Linked DNA regions of Homo sapiens: all the other regions are linked to region 3. The links are contacts of gene promoters, found by promoter capture Hi-C in human tissues and cell types (Jung and others, 2019). All regions are on one chromosome and are shown on one strand. Each heading gives the region's core, a stretch centred on a gene start or on the middle of the fragment in contact. The rest is flanking DNA. Distances are from core to core; before and after follow the strand shown.

Region 1 (3,451 bases), core at 267-2,766, 270 kb before region 3:
TATAGTCATGAACCACTGCAGTTAGCTCTCCTCCCTTTACTCTGGAGTCCAGGTCTTGTCTCTTCTATGTTGGCCCTATGGCTCATTTGGGTTCACTGAGGTAACATGAGGCCACTGAACTGGGAGCAGAAAAAGGGCCTGCTGAGAACATTCCCAGCAGCCCAAATTGCTATTGATAGGGAAAAATGCAAGTGGCATAAAGAAGAATACTTAGGAAATATTTTTAATTATAAAGTTTATTTAAGGATATCTACAATGTTGAAACCTCAAAGTAGGGTTTAACTTAGAAGAGATATCCTCCCTGATGAAAAACCTCTAATGCTTAGAATCCAATAACAACTCTGTGGTATTTTGTCTTTCAAGGCCCTGTATGATCACATCTCACCTACCATTCCCTTCCTTGGATCACCACACTCCAGATGCACTAACTTTTTGTATTCAAACCTGCAAGTACATTCCAACTGAAAACTTGCATATGTGCGTTCCCTCTGCCTAGAATGCCGTTTGCCCAAAGCTTTATTTTTTTATTTCACTTATTACAGCCTATATTACTTTGCCTCTTTATTTATTTGCCTGTTTCCTTGCTTTCATGTCTGCAGACTCATCAATCTCCTCCCACTAGAAATCAAACTCAATTTGATCAATGACTATAGTAGATTGTAATAGTGGCCACAATTACTGTCTTCATTCTACCCATTCTCCTTTTCAATGTGACTTTGCACCAGCTCCCATCAGCAAGCTTATTCTATTTCTCCACCCAATAAATCCAAACTAGCCTTAAGCCTACAAAATGCAGAGGAAATGAAGTTATGCACATCCCTATTCTAAGCCTCAAAAAACCTTGCACAATCTACATCATGTCCTGGAGCATTTCCCCAGAGTTTTCTTCTATGAGTTTTATATTTTCAGGTCTTAGATCCAAGCCTCTAGTCCATTTTGATTTGATTTTTCTGTATGGTGAGAACTTGGGGTCTAGTTTCATTCTTCTGCATATGGTTATCCAATTTTCCAAGTACCACTCATCAACAAAATTGTCCTTCAGCCATTGTACGTTTTGATCTTTGTCAAAGGTGAGTCGTTGGTAAATGCATGGATTTATATGTGGGTTCTCTATTTCGTTCCGTTGGTCTATGTGTGTGTTTTTATGCCAGCACTTTGCTGTTTGGCTTACTACAGCTTTGTAGTACATTTTGGAATGAGGTAGTGTGATGCCTCCAGCTTTGGGGTTTTTTTTGCTCAAGATTACTTTGGCTATTCAGGGTCTTTTGTGATTTCGTTACAGGTAGTTAGACAGGCATAAGCAGAACAGGAGAGAGCTCTTTCCCCACCCACCAGGAAAGTCAGGCGATCATCAGTATGGTTTGGCAGTTATCACATTGCCTCTCTAAAAATGATAATTTGGCTGCTAGCACCAGGGAGAGACAATCTCCTGGTGGCCCACAGCTGTCACATTAAAGTGTTCATTGAATGCAGGGACCAGGGAGAATCAACTTCCCAAATAAATAAAAACACTTGAAATCGGTAATAAAATCTCAAGTATTGGGAAGTGAGCCTGGGCATGAGCATTAAGAGACAAAATGGGGGAGTATGATCTTTTTGGGAGCATTCCACCTGAAAAGGGAAGAAAGCCTCAGATGGGCATGCATACAACTTCCTAAACACACTGCTCATGCTCACTTCCCAAGTGTAAGGAGGACACTGCACATGCGGGCAGCCCACCCTAAGGGAAGAATCATGGGAAAGAGGCACAAGACACCAAAAGTGGGCCAGCATATAAAGTCCTAAGATCAAGGTTAAATGCCACACTTGATCTTCACAGTGCCCACTTGGGTCTCTTCCAAGTGTACTTTCCTTTCTTTCCTGCTCTAAAGCTTTTAAATGAACTTCCACACCTGCTGTAAAACTTCCCTTAGTCTCTTTTTCTGCCTTATGCCCCTCAGTCAAATTGTTTCTTCTGAGGAGGGAAGAATTGAGGTTGCTGCAGACCTGAGTTACTGGATTCACTGCCAGTAACTCAGGTACCTTCCACCCCTAACAGTTTCATATAAATCTTAGAATTTTTTTCCTATTTCCATGAAGAATGTCAGTGGCATTCTGATAGGGATTGCATTGAATCTGTAAATTGCTTTGAGTAATATTGTCATTCTAACAATAATAATTTTTCCAATCCATAAGCATAGAATATCTTTCCATTTTTTTTTGGTGTCCTTTTCTATTTCCTTCATCAGAGTTTTATAGTTTACCTTGTATAGATCTTTCTCTTCTTAGGTAAGATTGGTTCCCAGATATTTTACATTTTTTGTAGTTATTATAAATGGGTTTGCTTTCTTTATTTCTTTTTCAGATTGCTTGCTGTTGGCGTATACAAATGGTAATGATTTCTGTATGATAATTTTGCATCATGCAACTTTACTGAATTTGTTTTTCAGTTCTAACAGCTTTTTGGTGGAGAATTTAGGTCTTTCTAGGTATAAGATCATGTTGCCTGCAAATGGGCTAATTTGACTTCTTCCTTTTCAATTTGGATGTTATTTATTTCTTTCTCTCATCTAATTAGTCTAGCCTCATCTAATTTTGCCAGTGAAGGCCATAGACATGTGAAAATACCTAGTCAATAAACAGCAAAGCTGTCTATCCTCTCTGCGTGCTGCTGAGCACAAATGCCTAAAAGAGTTAATTTAAAATCTGCCAAACCTGGCCCAGATCAGCAAAAATGCTCAGCTGACCTATGAATTTATGCTTATAATCTCTGAATAGTAAATAGTACTGAATGTTCAATCTGACCTTGTAATCTTATTATATTAGTCTGTTCTCACAGTGCTAATAAAGACATACCTAAAACTGGGTAATACATAAAGGAAAGAGGTTTAATGGACTCACAGTTCAGCATGGCTGGGGAGGCCTCACAGTCATGGGAGAAGGCAAAGGAAGAGCAAGTCATGTCTTACATGGTGGCAGGAAAGAGGGCATGTGCAGGGGAACTCCCCTTTATAAAACCATCAGATCTCATGAGATTTATTCACTATCACGAGAGCAGCATGGGAAAAACCCACCAACATAATTCAGTTACCTCCCATCAGGTTCCTCCATAACATGTAGGGATTATTACAATTCAAGGTGAGATTTGGACAGCGACACAGCCAAACCAAATCATACCACCTCTGGCCCCTCCCAAATATCATGTCCTCACATTTCAAAACCAACTGTGTCTTCTCAATAGTCCCCCAAAAGAGTTAACTCATTTCAGCATTAACTCAAAAGTCCACAATCCAAAGTCTCATCTGAGACAAGTCTGTTCTGCTTATGAGAGTGTAAATTCTAAAGCAAATTAGTTACTTCTTAGATACAATGGGGATACAGGCATTGGGTAAATATACCCATTCCAAATGGGAGAAATTTGCCAAAATGAAGGGGCTACAGGCCCCATGTAAGTCTGAAATCCCACAGGACA
Region 2 (3,858 bases), core at 300-2,799, 330 kb after region 3:
AATGACATCTCTAATCTATCCACATGAACAGGCCTGTTAAAATGAGGCTTAATCTTTAAATCTCCTTGGTAAGTGTGATTGAATTTGTTAAACTTTTGTTTGTAAGCCATATGGACATCAAAATAAGGAAAATATCCAAACCCGAACTTTGGCAAGATTCAAATGACAGTGTAAAGTGTTTATTATCAAATGCATTACAAATAACATTTCCATATCATTCAGTAGTCACTCGGTGATTTTTCACTGAATGACCAACATTGACATGAGCTCCTGGGGTTTGGCATTTTAGCAAATGTAAAAAAAGAGGTAGCTGGCCTAAGCCGTTTTCTGTCATTCCAAGCATTCCCTTAGACAAGAACAGGATCCTGAACCCAAATGTGAAGGAAGAACCAGTGCCCAGCTAAGAATAACTGTGCATGGTCCACAGTGCTCAGATAAATTTTTAAAAATCACTCATCACAGTTTCAGAATGTGCCATTTGTTATTCTTGCAAAAGGTTTGCTATATTCATTAAACGAACAAATATTCTTGGGAAAACTATATATAGTAGTTTACAGTCTTCACACTGTTTCCTCCCTTCCTAGCAGTCCAGTAGAATATAAACGACTTGAACATGAAAAGCAAACTTTGAAGTAAGATAGCAGGAAATCGGGGCTCCAAGGCCTTTGAATGTTGGAAGAAATTGGATTTCTCCACGTATTTTGTTTTATTTTTTAAAATTTATTTGCATGTTTTCTCCTTTTGAAAGAATAGTTCTGTGGTCATTACAGGATTTAGTTCTCTCAGTCTTCCTGTCTCTTTCTCCTTAATGCTTCTAGAGTTGACATTTTATCATTTTCACTTATTTAATGTTCTTGTAATAGTATTCTTCTAAAAACTATGATCCATTGCATATTCCCTGTTGAAGTCTAAGCTCATTAAGTTCAGAGATTAGGTCTCCTCTTTCTATTTTATCTTCCTATACCTGACTTAATATGAAGTATATTTAATAATGCTGCAGTGTTGTGTGACAATGGTAGCAACCTGTGCAGTCTCAAGGGCACAGACCAGTTAAATGAATTACTTATATTCCTATAATAATTATGACAGAAGAAAATAGGGAACCTTGAATTCTCATTATCCATTAACTCTTAGGGTCCATAAACCTGGAATTCATATGTGATATCAGCAGCATTGGTTCCAGTGGATTTAATGGAACTAATTTTAAATTCCCCGGACAAAGAGTGCCTTTACTTAGAGTAAAGCAAGTAGAGGTTCTTATCATAAAAAACAGGATAAACGTGTTTTTCTCCATTGCAAGTATGCACATATGCACAGTCACACACACAGGCGTGAATAAGAAATGTTTAAGATGTCCATGAATTTCCTGGAGAATCAGTTAATATACAGATTGCTGGGTTCAACACCAGAGATGACCATTCTTTGGTCTGGACTGAACTCAGAAAGGATCTCCTGTTCTGAAGCGAGTGTTCTCTGCTCCACCACACTTAACACTGGCTTACGTGGAATTGAGAGGTTAGTTAGCAGGATGTAGAGCTGGGGCAAAGAAATTTGACAGAAGTTTTTGAATCTTTCTTCTGACATATTAAGGTCAGCCAGTAACAGGCCTCCATATCTAAGGTGGCATTCAAGAACCTGTTGCCCGTCAAATAATGACTTTTATATGTTAACTAAGTTACCCCTTTTTCTTTTCAATTTTGACAGTGAATTATACAATTATACCCAAGATCAACAACTCATTTTAACTTTTGCAGATGTATACTGTGGATTTTTGCATTTTTAAGTTTATGAACTACACAATTATTATCCTTTTTCCATTTATTTTCTAGTTCATAAGGACCTAATGTGTGTTTATTTTTCACAATTGGTAAAATACTTTTTAATTTTTGGGTTACTTTTTTTTGCTAGGATGATATGTTTTGAAGCGCAGTATCTTATTTTATTTTTTTATTTTTAATTTTTGTGGGTAAATAGTGTGTGTGTGTGTGTGTGTGTATGTATGTATATGTATATATATATATATATATATATATTTTGGGGGTACATGAGATGTTTTGATACAGGCATGCAGTGTGAAATAAGCACATCATGGAGAATGGAGTATCCATCCCCTCAAGCATTTATTCTTTGAGTTACAGGCAGTCCAGTTACACTGTAAGTTATTTTAAAATATACAGTTAAGTTACAGTTGACTATAGTCACTCTGTTGTGCTATCAAATAATAGGTTTTATTTATTCTTTCTATAATAATTTTTTTTTTAACCTGTTAGCCAGCCCCACCTCTCCACCACTCACTCGCTGCCCGTCACTCCCCTTCCCAACCTCTGGTAACCACCCTTCTACTGTGTCCATGAGTTCAATTGTATTTATTTTTAGATCCTACAAATGAATGAGAACATATGATGTTTGTCTTTCTGCGCCTGGCTTATTTCACTGAACATAATGATCTTCAGTTCCATCCATATTATTGCAAATGACTGGATCTCATTCTTTTTGTGGCTGAATAGTACTCCATTGTGTAACTATATTTTTTCATAGCACACTTTGATTCAAACATAAGGTATGGTTATTGTAGAAAACTTGTATAATTTAACTTTAATGTGTTAAAGGATTAAAATGACTTTATGCCTAATTGAAGGAAAAGTGCCTGATCTCTAAGGAATCTGGGATAAGGATGTAATGTAAAATTATTAATATTTGGTGTCATGAAACTTTATTCAAATAACTTCTGAAAAAATAAAATAAATTGGAAGTCTTAATTCCTGTGTTAAATAGTTTATAATTATAAAATGAAAAGTAGAATACAGTCTCTGTGAGCATGAGGGAATTTCCTATTTTCTGGGTATAATATTCCCTCCACACATACTTTATGATATTTTGTCAGTACAACTTCGGACTGCTTTTTCCATAATTGAGTTGGTTGTCTCTATTTAGAGTACAAGTAGAAGCCTACAGCAATATAAATCTGAAGATCTGTGTAATATATTATGATTGATGTTAAAAAAAATAGGTTAAGGAAGTACTTACGTAAATTCTTCCATTAAGTAATGATTTAAGCAAAGTAGAGATTTAAGGAAGATAAAAACATACAATAAGAACTGTTTAAAATGTTCTTCTTGACCACTAGTCCAAGGTTTACTGACTTTGTTCCCTTGATCATTAGACCAGCCAGGCTTGTTCTCATTCTCTGGGCAGTGGCTGAAAACCTTTTACTAAGAGAAGTAGCTTCTAAGAATATCTTCAGCCCTTGAGGGTTCCAAGTCCCCCTACAAATAGCAGATTAGCAATCAGTGAAAACCTTCTGTTAGTTCCACGACTTAGCTTCTGTCTGGCGCATAGAACTCCAAAACGTATTCTGAAACTGAAGAAGTTTGGGGGCCAGTTTTAACTAATATAAGTTTTATATATTTTTAAATTACTAGCCACATTCCCAAAATGTATTGGTATTTTTTTTCTTCCAATGGCTGAGATTATTTTTCTGCTTTCTAATTCTAAATTAGGCATTTCTTATTTTTTCCCATGTAGATTCTAGATGCCTTAAACAGTCTACAGTCTTTTCTTCATTCATTCTCCATAGTTGGGGAAGGGTCTTTATCTATGACATTATGTCAAGTTTTATTTAGAAAAATTTTAGCCATGTAAATAGCACAGGCCTTGGATCTTCACAGAATGTGTTTCAAGTATAGGAGGTGCGTTGTATTGACAAAATGATCTTGTAAGTTTCTTAAACTCTCTGGGAAAAAAATTTAGTTTTTCATTTGTAAAATAAGTATAATAATACCTGTTTTGAAACTACGATATACATAAAAAGCCTAGCATAAGTCTAGCAAAGAGTGCGCTTGTAATATATGAGGGTTC
Region 3 (3,658 bases), core at 1,122-3,621:
TGCCTGCCTCGGCCTTCCAAAGTGCTGGGATTATAGGCATGAGCCACCGTGCCTGGCCTCGTTTGCTTCCTCTTGTATGGCATTTATCCATATTCTTTTTTCCTACTACACACAAGATGAATACTACAGCTAGGATTCCAGCCATTAGCTGACCTTTTTGTCTAAACCAGATGCCTGCTCCTCCATATGACCTCTCTCCTGTCTGGTCAGGCCTCTTCCAGGAACTTCCATAACATTCCATTCTCATTCCAATCCCTTGTCTAGGCTCCTGCTGTGGCTCTCAGTGTTAACTGGAATGTTTGACTTTGTCTCTTACACCACTGCAAACAGTGTGACATTACTCAACAAATGGACCAGGCAGGGTTAAGGTCACCAGTAAAGCAAGTTATCTAATTCTTTGGTCTGACTTGAGTTCACAAACCTACCCTAAACTATTTGACTCTCCTGATGGAATTAAACTAATCTATTTAGTCATTCGTCTCATGTAATATCTTTGCCACAAATCCTAAGATCATTTTATAAGTATAGGGACGGTGTGCAATAGTCTAGTGCTATAAAGTTGTATTGAGTGCTCATTCAATACTTAACAATTAGCTGATCTTCAAATAATTTAAAACCACATATACTATGCTTTTACCCATTCTTCCTTTACCTCCATTTAAAATAATGAATTATCTGCTATACTGAGTCAGGGTAAATTACAATGAGTCCCAGGATAAGGTGGTAGGACAGGAAGTGTGTGTTTTTACCCTCTTCCTCTGGAGTGCATAATGCTTTACTATGATACAAAGAGAAGTTTGAAGGAAGTCACGTTGTCAAATATGACAGAAGTAATAACTTGACTGCAATTCCTGAGCCTATCAACCTCACCGTTTGTCCACAAACATAACCAGAATATATTTTATCTTGATTTCCGACTTGAGGGAAAATAAGTTCAGTGATTTAAGATCTGCCAGTTAGCATAAATATTGTGAAAGCAAAAAACTGTGCTAAAATTTTAAGAGAAAAAAAGTTAAGTGTGTTGCGTTTTCAGAAAGATTTAGCTATGGAGTTTTTTTTTTTGTTTTGTTTTGTTTTTTTTTTTTTTGGTTTTGTTTTGTCTTGACCTATGAGTTTGAAGAAGACAAAGTGGCTCTGTAAATAAGTCGACTTCATTTTTAAAGCGTTTGGAAAGGTTAAATGAGGTTGAATCTTGAGAGTCTTTTTGGTGGTTAGGAGAGGGGGAATTTATTAAAGAGAGGAAGACAATGTACCTAATATGTTGTGATGATAATGACAAACTCAAAGATTTAAACTTCATGAGTCATTCTGGTCATTCATATCATCATCAGGAAAACATCTTCATGTGTAGCTTCATAGGTGAGCTCCACAAAACTGTGCATTACCTTGTAGTAGTTTGTGAATAATGTGCTGACCTATGACACATAGCCACGTAAGTGAATAAACACTATTATTATTATTATTTTGTCTTGGTTTTCATTAAACTATCTTAGTAGTTTCAGGAGCTCTGGGTTTCAACACACACTTCTGCCAGCTGACTTTAGTGCGTCCATTAGCATAACAAAGTCAATTAGGCAAACCTGAATTTTCACTTTTATCCCGTTCACAGAACATCAGTGTAAATGGAGACAGGAAGAAGAAATTGGATTGATTCTCCACTTGAGAATTATGTTAACTTGGAAGAAAATGTTAAGTCTACTATGTGAGGGCATCTAGTGAGAGGGAAGGAATCACCTCCCTTCCCCCATTATGTCCCTTTATGCACCTCTGACCCTTGTGCTCTCCTTTTCTTGTTGCTTCTGTGGTCTGGTTGTTAGCTTTCCCGATCCTCCACACATTAGAAACCTAAGCATAATGATTTCTGATCGAAGGCTATGAGATATTTGAAATAAAAAAAGGGGAAATTGTTGAGTCTAGAACCAAACCTTTAAAAATTAAGAACTACCAGTCTGTAATGTGTGCCTTTAGAAAAAAACAAAGTCAAACAGAAATTAGGCAACTAGTTAGAGCCGTGATTGTGCTCTGCCACCCATGAACTCCCGTCTATGACTATTTCCACTCTGGCTTTGTGTTTCAGTAGGTCAGGGACACATATTAAGAGCAACAATTGGAACTGCGTTATCCTTTACCTCCATAAAAATACAGCTTAATAACATGTTAATGACTTAAAATTACCTTGTCTTTCTAGATTGTTTATTGATGTCATTTCAGATCGGTATAAAGGATGTGAAGTGAATAAGAAAATAGGTACGTTTCTTTTTCTTTTTTTCCCCTTTCTACCGACTAGGAAGAGATCCAGTCCAGGTTTTGCCTTTGACTCGGCCTGTGAATTTCGGCTGTGCAATGTGTAGCACGTTTCTTTCTCCCCCCTCCTTTCTCCTTCCCTCTTGCCTCCAGTGACTGTCTCCAGGATTTCTCTCTTCCTATTTCAGGAGGACTCTCACAGGCTCCCACAGCCTGTGTTAAGCTGAGGTTTCCCCTAGATCTCGTATATCCCCAACACATACCTCCACGCACACACATCCCCAAGAACCTCGAGCTCACACCAACAGACACACGCGCGCATACACACTCGCTCTCGCTTGTCCATCTCCCTCCCGGGGGAGCCGGCGCGCGCTCCCACCTTTGCCGCACACTCCGGCGAGCCGAGCCCGCAGCGCTCCAGGATTCTGCGGCTCGGAACTCGGATTGCAGCTCTGAACCCCCATGGTGGTTTTTTAAACACTTCTTTTCCTTCTCTTCCTCGTTTTGATTGCACCGTTTCCATCTGGGGGCTAGAGGAGCAAGGCAGCAGCCTTCCCAGCCAGCCCTTGTTGGCTTGCCATCGTCCATCTGGCTTATAAAAGTTTGCTGAGCGCAGTCCAGAGGGCTGCGCTGCTCGTCCCCTCGGCTGGCAGAAGGGGGTGACGCTGGGCAGCGGCGAGGAGCGCGCCGCTGCCTCTGGCGGGCTTTCGGCTTGAGGGGCAAGGTGAAGAGCGCACCGGCCGTGGGGTTTACCGAGCTGGATTTGTATGTTGCACCATGCCTTCTTGGATCGGGGCTGTGATTCTTCCCCTCTTGGGGCTGCTGCTCTCCCTCCCCGCCGGGGCGGATGTGAAGGCTCGGAGCTGCGGAGAGGTCCGCCAGGCGTACGGTGCCAAGGGATTCAGCCTGGCGGACATCCCCTACCAGGAGATCGCAGGTAAGCGCGGGCGCGCTGCAGGGGCAGGCTGCAGCCCTCGGCTGCCGCACGTCCCACTGGCCGCCCGGCGTCCCCTTCCTTCCCCCTGTTGCTGAGTTGGTGCTCACTTTCTGCCACCGCTATGGGACTCCGCGTCTCCGTGTTGGGCGGCGGATGCTCCTGCGGCTTCTTCGGCGGGGGAAGGTGTGCGTCTCCGCCGCCTCATTGTGTGCACACGCGGGAGCACCCTGGCTCCCGCCTCCCGCTGCTCTCGCGCCCTTCTACCCCTTAGTTGATGGCTCAGGCCCGGCTGGCCAGGGAGCCCGGGTCACTCCGGGGCGGCTGCAAGGCGCAGACGGAGAGCCGAGCCGGGCGCTCACTCCGCGTTCTGGTTCGGGCAAACTTGGAAGAACTGCGACCGCAGTTTGCCCAGCGCCACAGTCTGAGTGGCGCCTTCTCCACTCCCGCCCTTGCGCCGGCAGGGGCGGTGGAGAGACG
Region 4 (3,983 bases), core at 36-2,535, 320 kb before region 3:
TTTTTTGGCTGTAATGTGCATGATTATATATTTAGACTTTTAGGAAAAATATTTTTCAAAGTGTTTTTTGAATTGAACTATATTAGAGGGCCACCAGTATAGTAAAAGCCTATTTATATGTCAATACATAAATGTTTCAAAAAAATGTTGTGGCTTAATTTTTCTTAGCATTCCTTTTTGCCCTATAAAACAATGGTCTATGGGTTTATTTTAAATTACATTTTACCTAAAAAGAATAGTCATATTTTGAATCCGTGATGAAGAGTGACATGCTCTTTCTCTCTAAATTCATTTTCAATAATTGACCAAAATGTATTATCCCAATGGTCTGTAGTAGAGACTGAATCTCCGGAACATATCCAGGATGGTAGAAATTCATGAAGCAAGTGAAGGAGGATGAAGGTGGGACACAGACACACAAGTTAATTGCTAATTGCTCTAATTGGTTGCCATCTGTCAGATGTTACCATTTTCAAGCTACCAATATTGATGTCATGTTATTTCAGATTGGTATTTAATGAATCCATGAAGTGTTTCCATATGTGCTTTCATCCCTAAAGAGTGATGATGATGTTGGCTCCATGTACCTCATTTATAACTTAGATTTTCCACTGTGCTCTAATACAATTACTTTAGCAGTTTGGAAATATGCATTGTTGTATGGAAAAAAAAAAGTGGTTCAATAGATAAGACTTTGGTGTCTAGATTTTTAAAGAGGTCATACTACTTTACTATTAATTTACAAAGAAGTCCTAATTAAAAGAAAATCTGATTTTTCCAGAGCATCAACACCAATCATTTCAGAGGAAATTCTATTTGCCAAAACACTACAAATATTAGTTTCCATAAAAGAGAGAAATTGCGTCATAAATGAAACAATATAATTGATAAAGATGTTCATTGAGAGAAGTTATTCATAAGAATTTTTTTTCTCATGGGATTCTTTTTCCTTCCCAGTTTTATTAGATATTTACCTATGTAGAAATATCTGAAAGTTACTTGATAGGAAAAAGATTCAGTTAGTATCTGAAGCAGGAATCTTTTATATGTAGGCCTACATGCATGTAAAATATCAAAGAAAAAAATTTTAAGTACATTCAATTAAATGAACCTAATCTGTATTTAATTTAGAAGGGACATCCCTTGACATTAAAAAGGCAATGTTTAAATTCCTATCACTTATGGACACCTACTGTCAAATCATTATTTAAAAGGAATTATTTGTGTAAACAAAAGCATAAAATAACTGGGAAACAAAAGAACTAGAAATAAACACATATGCCAGACTACTACCTTTTTTTAAAGATAATGTTTACAAAAATTAATAGAATATACCAGCTTCTGGCCAGACATGCAAAGAGCTTCGAAGTCCTCACTCCCATCCTCATAATTTTTTTTTCAAGTGGAATGAACCAAAACCCAACAATTTTTAGATCCATCAGAATATTCAGGTCACAGAGCAAACCTCTGACCCAAATTTGGAGAGATGGGCAAATATAGAGAATCATATTTTACTTGGAGTAGAAGCCTTGCTGGAGGAGCAACTGGGAAGAATAATTTCAATTGACTAATGGCTGGCAACTGAACATGGACTGGCTTGAGAGAGAAACATTTCTGGGGACCCAGTCTCAGGGGAGTACCCATATTTCCATGAGGTTCCATGAGAACCCCAGCAGGCTCTCACTGTAAAGAGAAAAGTCCCCTAATACTTTAGTTAGGGGGAGGTAAAAAGTAACCATTGTGTCATATGCCCAAAGCTTTGTCTTACACTTAAAAAAGGCCTTTCCTTAAGGAAAACTATTTTACCAGAGCTTAACCCATTTGGGTTTTTCCATACCCAAATTGACCTCAGGAAAGAAAATACCTAAGCTCCAGTCCCATCTAGTCTTTGAAGTGAAAGAACGAAAGTGCTCAACTCCAGCCCCTTCTAGCCTTTCTGCCCCATCCAAGGGAGTGAAGGTAGGAGCTGAGAAGCACTTGAGAAGGTCACATCCCAAGTACCCAGCCTCGCTAAAACATTGAAACCTAATCAAAGGATTATAAAACACTTCCTGCTTTCCATGACTTACCACCACATCAATAGGGCTACTGAATAATAACAGGATTACAGCTGAAAGAGCTGAAAGTATAAGACACTACTTAAGAAGGAATCTCTAGGGAAAGCCAAAGACAGCAATGGAGATAAAAAAACAAGGATCCGAGAGGAAACTTTAGTCTCTGACAGTACAGCCACAGTCAAGAGTAAACAGACCTATACTTCTAGCCAGGTAACATAAAACTTCAAAACAAAGGCCTATTTACTTAAGTACCTTATTCTATACATCATATCCAGCTTTCAACAACAACAAAAAATTGTGAGGCATGCTAAAAGGCCAAAAACACAGTGTGAAGAGAAAAAGCAAAGATCAGAAAAATACGCAGACATGGAAGAGACTTTGAAATTGCCACTGATAATTTAAAATAACTATGAATAATACGCTAATGCCTCTAATGAAAAAGTGGATAACAATCAACAACAGATGGGTAATGTAAGCAGAGAGATTAAAAAAAACACTAAGAAAAAAATTGCTAGAAATCAAAAACACTATAACAGAAATGAAGAAGGTATTTGAAGGGTTCATTAGCAGAATGAACATGACTAAAGAAAGAATCAGAGAGCTTGAAGATTTGTCAACAGCAACTTCCCACTGAAAAATAAAGAGAAAAAAGAATTTAAAAAAAAACTTAGTAGCTATCTAAAAAACTGTAGGACTACTACAAAAGGTGGAACATACATAGAGATACCAGAAGGAGGGGAATGTGGGAAAGGAGCGAAGAATAATTTATAATAATAACGATTGAGAATTTTCCAAAATTAATTACACATACCAAATGACAGACCCTAGAATCACAAACACCAAACAGGAAAACAAAAAAATTACATCTATGTTTACCATGTTCAAAATATAGAAAATCAAAGACAAAGCAAAATTTTAAGAGAAGCCAGAGGAAAAAATACATCTTATTGGGAGACGAACAAAGATAAGAATTATACTGGACGTCTCTTCAGAAACCATGCGAGCTAGAAGAGAGTGGAATGAAATATTTAAAGTTTTTAAGGAAAAAAAGCAACTAGCCTAAAAATCTGCATCCAGGAAAATTATTCCTCAAAAATGAAAGAGAAAAAAAGGTCTCAAATGAAAATTGACAGAATTTGTCACCAGCACATTTATCTAGCAAGAAATGTTAAAAATTCTTCAGAAAAAATGTAATTCAGAAGTATGCATCAATACAGAAAAAAGCATTATTGAATAAACAGATGAAGGTAAAATGATTTTTGTATTTTTATTATTCTTAATTGATCTGACTTTTTTTTTTCTTTTGAGATGGAATCTTACTCTGTTGCCCAGGCTGGAGTGTAGTGGAGCAATCTCGGCTCATTGCAACCTCTGCCTCCCAGGTTCAAGCGATCTCCTGCTTCAGCCTCCTGAGTAGCTGGGATTACAGGTGTGTGACACCATGCCTGGTTAATTTTTGCATTTTTCAGTACAGACAAGGTTTCACCATGTTGACCAGGTAGATCTAACATTTAAAGGTTTGTTCAAAATAATAATATCTACAATGTACTGAGTGATTAAAGATTATGGATAAGTGAATAATGTTTATAAAAGGATAGACAAAAAGACTGAAAGGTAATATTTCAAAATATATTGCCTCTAGATGGTGCAACTCTATTTCTGTTCTATACTCTGCAAATAAAAAATCATGGTACTTTTACCAAAAAAAAAGATGCAATCACTAATATCTTAAATCACTAGATTAATTCAGAAATAATTGTAGGTGACACAACAAATGAGTTTAGTTCTTTACATCATATTCTGAAATATTTTTACAATATATGATTAATATTAATTCACAAAGAAGGATTATATCTTTGTGAAATTTTATCATAGGTTTTCACCCAATTATGTTAAAAGATAGCCAGCAAAGCAAACCTTTAATAA
Region 5 (3,800 bases), core at 45-2,544, 390 kb after region 3:
TAATATGGTCAATGTCGTTGAATGGTTAAGAACATGGGTTTACAGATGTCTAGGTGCAGACTCCTCTACCACATGGAAGGGCAAATTACTTTACTTCTATGTATCTCTGTTTTCTCATCTGCAAATCAGGTGTAGTAATAGTAACTAGCTCCTTGGGTGGCGGTGACGATTAAATGAAGTGAAGAAACCATGGCTGGTACATAGTAAGCATGAGCTCAGTCAATGTGAGATGTGGTTTTTGTTAATATGAAATAGCTATAGCCAAAGTCCCCAAATAGTAACTAAAACAGTATAGTATTATCAATCCCCCTATATTTTTTTCAAATTATATAATTGTTTGATATTTATCTTTTATTTATTTACCCAAAAGGAAAGGGTGCTATAGAAGATCTCTTAGTAAAATACTGAAAAGTAAAGAAAAATACACCATTCAAGCATAACACGTTTTGTTTAGAAAGTTAAAATATTTAGCAAAGACAGAATATGTTCCTAAATGGAGTGAGGAATCTTGTCCTATTTGTTTTATTTTTTATCTTGCTCATTGCTTTTTTTTTCCTCTGAGTATACTTGGGTTGATGATCTGCTTTCTATTTATATCATTACTTACTATGTACAATTTAATGTATTAGCCATCATGATATCATGGGTATGAATAAGGTCCTGGATTCCTCACACATTTCCAAGTGCAGACTCCAGCTGAAACAGAACAAAGATTCAGATGTTTAATAATATTGTACAATTTTTGTTTTCTTTAAATTTTTTCTCAAAAGTTTACTTTCTAAGAAATCAGTGTAGACCAATAAAAGTTTCCTGTGGTGGAATTTGGTTGGTATACTTCCTAGAATTTAACCCTAACCAGGTTTTCTTTCAAAACTACTGAGAATCATTTTATTTACAAATAACAATTATATGAATTATCAAAGAATTTTAAAATTAACATAACTTTGTCCAAAGTCAGTGTCTCTTCCTGTTATAAAATTACTTGATCCTATTAAGAAATTCTGAATTGCAACATCTGTTTGTTTTTGTTTATCCCTTTTGTCGAGAGGATTCATGCCATGATTTTCTTATTACATTTTTAATAGATATTCAGTGAAAAAGGTAACTGATGCCAGGCAGTTTATGTATCAACCACATCTATCATGCCTTTTCCTCCTTTGTCCTACCTATTCAGTTGTTAATGGGCTATTTGGGCAGCAGCCACACAAACGCTTTCACATAGATCACGCATCAACATAGTTATCCTGGAAAAGAAAACACCTGAACTATTTATTCACATGGCATTTTCCTTGAAATTTCTAGAACAACTTTTTGTGAATAAGGACCTCAATCTACCCATTTACAAGATGTGTTGTATGAGCTGTAAATGTTACTGGGGTGTTGTGAGTACAGACTTGGCCTTGGTTCCACAGTGTCCCCTCACTTTCTCTCTAAGCTTTTTCATTTATCAATTCCAATCGCCAAACTCAGATACTAAAAATTCTAAAACTCTCTGAAAATACTTAATATGTCTGTTGCAATGACTACATGAGCTAACATGGATAATGTGTAGTGCCTGGCACATACTGCTCACTCAGTAGTAACTAAACTAAAACAAGAATTACAAATTGGGAGGCAGTGAAATCCTGATTTCTTCATTTGTATACCTAAGTATTTGAAGAAGGATTCTCTCAATGTAAATATGTACTTGTACGTATTTAAGAATACATATGTGTTTTAATTGCTTTTCTTTACCTAAACAATTTGTCTCTTTAGTCTGTCCTACTTTCACTGTTTGGGGAAATAGGTAAGAATTTGTATTAAAATCCCTCTCAGAAAGGCTATTCTATTCTCATTTTTCCTTTTAAAGAACAAATACAGCTAACTAGCACATTCAAAATAAAAAATTGAATTGTTATGTAATTCAGAATATAAATAGGAAGACTATAATGAAATTTTGGGGAACAGAGGATGTACGAATACTTTAATGGAAATTTATTGGAGATGAGAAATTATGAAATTCACAGTCTTTACCATTCAAAGGGAAGTTGTTCATCTCTTACAATATGTGCGATTAGATCATTGATACCAGTTTGTTTTTTCAACAGAAACAATCACCTTAAAACTTTACATTCGGGGTAAAACACATCTGGTAGAAAAATCAACTTAGTTTCATTGTTTAGGGTTCCAATTAGATGATTAAATACTTTCTCTGGATTTGCAAGAGTCAAAGAAACAGGTTACACAGAGGGTAAGAAAAACTCCTTCCTGTTAATAACACAATGTTAGAAGGTCCCTTACAATGTAACTAAAAAATGCTCAGGCAAGAACCATCCTAAATAATATATCAGTCATTTCTTGAAGTAGCAAGTGTTGCCTTAAAATAATGTTTTATGAATACCCATAGATTAAAGAAACACAAACAATTCCCACAACCAATCTGTGAACACATTTATGAGGTATGTAGAGCTAGTTATGAACATTCAACACCATTGACGTGCTCCTTTTTTTTGAATTATAAGTAATGATTAACTTTACTAAAATGCCTATGATATCCTCTAGTGTGTGATCACTTAACCAAAAGGAAATAACACATCATTGTCAGGTTTCATACTTTACAGTTTGTTTTTTCTCCTAAGATGGATTGAATGTTTTAACCTCCTTTAAACTACATTACCTTTAAAAACATTGTAATAATCTTAGGTTCAGAACTGGAACTGTTTGAAAGGCATGCCAGAATTAAAGTTATATTTAGGCCACACCAGAAGAGCACAGAGGTTACTGGAGTAATATTGAGGATGATGATAGGAAGACAAAGAGGAGAAAAAATCCTGTTGAAGATCTTAGTGATACAACTTCCCCATTGCTAATGATTTGCCAAATAATTGCTATTCAATTGTTACTTAAAGGAAATTTATAATTAGAAGGAATATTAGATATATAGCCCAGGAGTTTTCCAGTTTCTTTATTTAGTTGTGTAAATCTAGAATTAACTCTTTAAACTCTGTAATGGAGCCTTTGTCTGCCTCATTCATCTCTCTATTTCTGGCAGCTAGAAAAGCTCTTAGTACAATGACTGCTCAACAAATACGTGTTGAAAGCAATGAAGAGAGAGATATAACTTAAATAGATAAAGCAACATTTTTCTGATCAGAGCAGGTTGAGCAGACCCATCTGCATGGTAGCTCAGAAGCTTTCTGAGGATGTTAAGAAGCCCCCTCGGACACACATACATGAAACTCTGTGCTCTGCAATTTGAAAATCACTGGGTTTAATTCTCTCATTTTATGTATAAGAAAATAAAGCTGTCTTCTGGAATCCCAAGTTTCAATATATATTTTTGTAGCTAGGTACTATGTATTTATGGGAGTTGGAAAATAACATTCTATGATAAGCTTATGGGCCATTTTGTTTTCAGAGAAATTATTTCAGGAAGACAAATCATAAGAGAATACTCTATAACCTATTTGCTCTGAATCTAAATGGTTATAACACATGCCTTAATAATTTATACTTCTAACAAAAATATGTAATATTCTTTCAAAAGTCAGGTGTGTTATTCCTTACATATACTAAAAACAAATCATGATTACTGTAATTAAATGTAGGAAATAGCTTGCTGCCCATCCATTATTAAAAGGAGATTTGTATTTCCCATAAAAAATTTAATCTGGCTCTGGTTCTCTAGGGAAAAAATAATGTAGAGAATATACATGGACATACATACAGGACTGTACAAAATGTAAAAGCAAACATTTACCTTTCCTCCATGTATTAGAAAGCTGGCTAATGTTTGTAAATTACCTAATTTGATTGACTTC
Region 6 (3,577 bases), core at 581-3,080, 370 kb after region 3:
GAAGGGCAGTGCCAACACCATGTTGATCCTCGACAACGTAATGTTGATTCTTATACTTTGAAGTAATGTATTAGACAAGTTTCTCCAGGGGAACAGAACCAAAAGGATGTGAAATAAATAAATAAATAAATAAATATATATATATATATATATATATAATGTATATGTGTGTATATGCATATATAAGTGTGTATACACTTATATAAGTGTGTATATAAGTATATATAAGTGTGTATACACATATATAAGTGTATATGCATATATATATGTGTATATATGTATATGTGTATATATACACACATACACAGGTACATACATATAGATGTGTGTATAAATATATATAATTACGTGTGCCTGTATATATATAAAATTTATAATGAAGAATTGGCTCGTGTGATTATGGAGCCTAAGAAGTGCCAAGATCTGCAGTTGGTAGGCTGGAGACCCAGGAAAGCTGATGGTATGGTTCCAAAACAAAAGCTAGCAGCCTTGAGACCCAAGAAGAACTTATATTTTAGTTCAAATCTGGCAAAAAAAAAAAAAAAAAAAAAAAGAAAAGAAAAGACTAGTGTTTCAGCTCAAGTAGTCAGGCAGTAGGAATTCCCTCTTATGGTTCTATCTAGGCCTTCCACTGGTAGATGGAGCCAACCCGTATTAGAAAGGGGAATCTCCTGTACTCAATCTATTCCTTCAAATGTTTGTCTCATCCAGAAAAGCTCTCATAGACAAATCCAGAATAATGTTGGATCAAAGGCATAGGCACACTATGTCCTAATCAAGTTGACACATCACATGAACCATCACAGAGCATCATTATAGAGATATCAGAGCAGACCCTAGTGAATGCCACAGATAAAATCTCCTCAAGGCTGCCTTTCCCTATGGTGGTGTGAAGTTACACATTAGCACTGTAAATGTCATAATACATCTCTATTAGATAGGATAGCTGAAAGAACTAAGAAGGTGAGGGAGCTGTCTGACTGGAACCTGGGCCCCCTTCCATCTACCTTTGAGAAGTCAAACATTTATGAATTACAGTTGACCCTTGAGCAACATATGTTTGAACTGCAGAGGTTCACTCAAACACCAATTTTCTTCCACCTCTGCCACCTGTAAGACCGCAAGACCAACCCCCTCTTCTTGCCTCTCCTTAGCCTCCTCAGCGTGAAGACCTTTATGACTGTCCACTTCCACTTCATGAATAAGTAATATATTTTCTTTTTCTATAATTTGTGTAATAACATTTCTTTTCTCTAGCTCACTGTATTGTGAAAATATAGTACATATAATTTTAAAAAGTGTTGATTGTTCGTCTTATCAGTAAGGCTTCTAGTCAGCAGTAGGGTTTTAATAGTTATGCTTCTGGGGAGTCAAAAGTTATATGTGGGCTGGGCGCGGTGGCTCACACCTGTAATCCAAGCACTTTGGGAGGCCGAGGCAGGCGGACCAGGAGGTCAGGAGATCGAGACCATCCTGTCCAACATGGTGAAACCCCATCTCTACTAAAAATACAAATATTATCTTGGTGCGGTGTTGCACACCTGTAGTCCCAGCTACTCAGGGGGCTGAGGCAGGAGAATCACTTGAACCCGGGAGGCAGAGGTTGCAGTGAGCTGAGATCGTGCCACTGCACTCCAGCCTGGCAACAGAGCGAGACTCCATCTCAAAATAATAATAATAATAATAAATAAAAAAGTTATATGTGGATTTTTTACTGTGTAAGTGGTTGGCATCTCTAACCCCCACAGTATTCAAGGGTCAATTATAAAACTTAATGGTGATGTTAACACATCGAGTCCAGGCTTGTTTCTGTGCATATCATGATGTCTCTGTTATGAATACTTAGGATGTGTCCTGTTTTCAAACCATCTCCACCTTAGAAATCTTTCACTTTGTTACTCTTCTTCCTCTTTACATTCAACTAAGAGATGGGACTCAGGTGAATTAGTACAACTTTAATTTCAAGTGAGTGCCTTCACATTAAGTTTCCATTAGCCTTTCACTTAATGAGTATTTTCACGTACATTGTCACATTTGATCATTCAGTGAGGTATGGGGTGAATTATATGAAATTGCTGATATTTGACCATTGTGGAGTCACAAAAGCAGCAATTTTATGTGGTTGAATATGGCATTATTAAACCTACTTTTGAGATGCAGAAAAGTGAGGCTTAAAGCAAATGTGACTTAAAAAAAATCATAAAGCTTTCAGCAGCAGAGCTAAACTAAGTCTCATGACTGCAAAATTCTATGATTTTCCCATATTGCCACTACTGAACTGGCAGCCAGCCACCCATTTGTATTTTCCTTAATACAAGTAAATGCTAATTCAAATAGGATGAAATTAATCTGATATTTTAATGACTCAAAACTGTAGATGTTAATAGCTTTCTGTTATTTTGTTTTTGATATGGTTCCCATTTCTTTTTCTCACCAATGAAGAATAAACATTGAGATTCTGAAGTCACCATAATTTTTGGTCACCACTGTGTCTGAGACACCTCAATTTGCAACAGTTCTACTCTTCATACACTTACTTAGAAATTTTCAAAAATCTTGAAAGCTTTAGAAATCTTTGAGTGCAAAGAATCATCATGAGAACATATAAGGTTAAACTGTGATTTCGTTTTGATTGTGTTTACAATTATTGAAATTATACCGAAAAGTTCCTTGATACCTTCCAGCAATCTTTGCTGAATATACGTGCACTTTGGAAAAATGGGTCCCTGAACTATTTATAGATATACATATTTTATTGATTTTTCAAGCTTCATTTTGAGATATTACTTAGAAACTGCCAAATATTGGTAAAAAAAAAAAAAAAGAGACATCAGAATCTTTATAAAGTGACCAAAAGTAACGTTGCTGAGATTTGTTGGCAGCTCAAATCCAACTATTTGCTTATAGAGATCTGTTTTCTTATAAATAAAGCTGATCAGGGAAGCATGAAATTTGAGAGCATTTTCAGGGCCCGTTGGAATTGAAGTCACTACATTCTGCTTACTCTTTATGATCTGGCTTCTGTGATTTGTCTAAAAAATGTGGAAAAGGAGTGAGTTCAAGAAGAAGCCATTACATGGTCCTGCCTGAGTTATTTGTAGGTTATAATGGCAGCTTGTAGGGTCACAGATGGCCTTAGGAGGGGGGAAGCAGAGAGGGAAATAGCTCCCCAGCCCCATGTAGTGAAGATAAAGAATGTCTTCATAAGGTTTTATTTTTTTCACTGTTACTGTTTTTTATCTTTGATTGATAAAAATGAAAATGCCAAAATGAGGGTTAGCTTAATTTAAAGTATAAGCGTAGTTAGCAGCTTTTTCTAATCACTCCTGTCCATTTAAAAAATAATCCTCATAGGAGTATAAACAGAGGAAGGAGAAATGGAGGATGGGCTTAAGAGAAAGAGTATTTCACAAATGTCTGCATAGCAAATTCAATTCATCTACCTAGTAGCTCCTTCCATGTTAACCTACAGGTGTTCTCCCCTCCAAAAAAAAGCATCTTTTAGGAAGAAACCACCTTAACACTACCTTTAGAAGATTGAACTTCCAGGGATAGGTTGTTTGAGAGAATCACCAAA

The links. Contacts are between HindIII fragments. The study calls those that stand out against the background at their distance.
Region 1: a contact is called between a fragment that was not itself captured here and the fragment with the promoter of GPC6 in region 3, in 2 of the 25 tissues and cell types used here (aorta and heart right ventricle).
Region 2: a contact is called between a fragment that was not itself captured here and the fragment with the promoter of GPC6 in region 3, in 1 of the 25 tissues and cell types used here (mesenchymal stem cells).
Region 4: a contact is called between a fragment that was not itself captured here and the fragment with the promoter of GPC6 in region 3, in 2 of the 25 tissues and cell types used here (IMR-90 fibroblasts and mesenchymal stem cells).
Region 5: a contact is called between a fragment that was not itself captured here and the fragment with the promoter of GPC6 in region 3, in 2 of the 25 tissues and cell types used here (aorta and dorsolateral prefrontal cortex).
Region 6: a contact is called between a fragment that was not itself captured here and the fragment with the promoter of GPC6 in region 3, in 1 of the 25 tissues and cell types used here (mesenchymal stem cells).

What each region holds. Positions count from the first base shown.
Region 1 is chr13:92,956,341-92,959,791 of GRCh38, forward strand. No RefSeq gene overlaps it. Among named protein-coding and RNA genes, the nearest start is that of LINC00363, 87 kb to the right of the region's middle. The HindIII fragment of the contact is 5,357 bases long and covers 1-3,451 here.
Region 2 is chr13:93,554,401-93,558,258 of GRCh38, forward strand. The region is part of intron 2 of GPC6 (glypican 6); the gene reads left to right. Among named protein-coding and RNA genes, the nearest start is that of GPC6-AS2, 300 kb to the right of the region's middle. The HindIII fragment of the contact is 9,916 bases long and covers 1-3,858 here.
Region 3 is chr13:93,224,436-93,228,093 of GRCh38, forward strand. It overlaps GPC6 (glypican 6), which reads left to right and starts at 2,372. Exons shown (of 9, transcript NM_005708.5): 1 at 2,372-3,181. The coding sequence starts at 3,022. RefSeq lists enhancers at 1-558, 2,965-3,658. The HindIII fragment of the contact is 15,285 bases long and covers 1-3,658 here.
Region 4 is chr13:92,903,441-92,907,423 of GRCh38, forward strand. No RefSeq gene overlaps it. Among named protein-coding and RNA genes, the nearest start is that of LINC00363, 140 kb to the right of the region's middle. The HindIII fragment of the contact is 5,647 bases long and covers 1-3,983 here.
Region 5 is chr13:93,614,349-93,618,148 of GRCh38, forward strand. The region is part of intron 2 of GPC6 (glypican 6); the gene reads left to right. Among named protein-coding and RNA genes, the nearest start is that of GPC6-AS2, 240 kb to the right of the region's middle. RefSeq lists an enhancer at 955-1,459. The HindIII fragment of the contact is 3,957 bases long and covers 1-3,273 here.
Region 6 is chr13:93,596,478-93,600,054 of GRCh38, forward strand. All of the region lies in intron 2 of GPC6 (glypican 6), which reads left to right. Among named protein-coding and RNA genes, the nearest start is that of GPC6-AS2, 260 kb to the right of the region's middle. The HindIII fragment of the contact is 3,659 bases long and covers 2-3,577 here.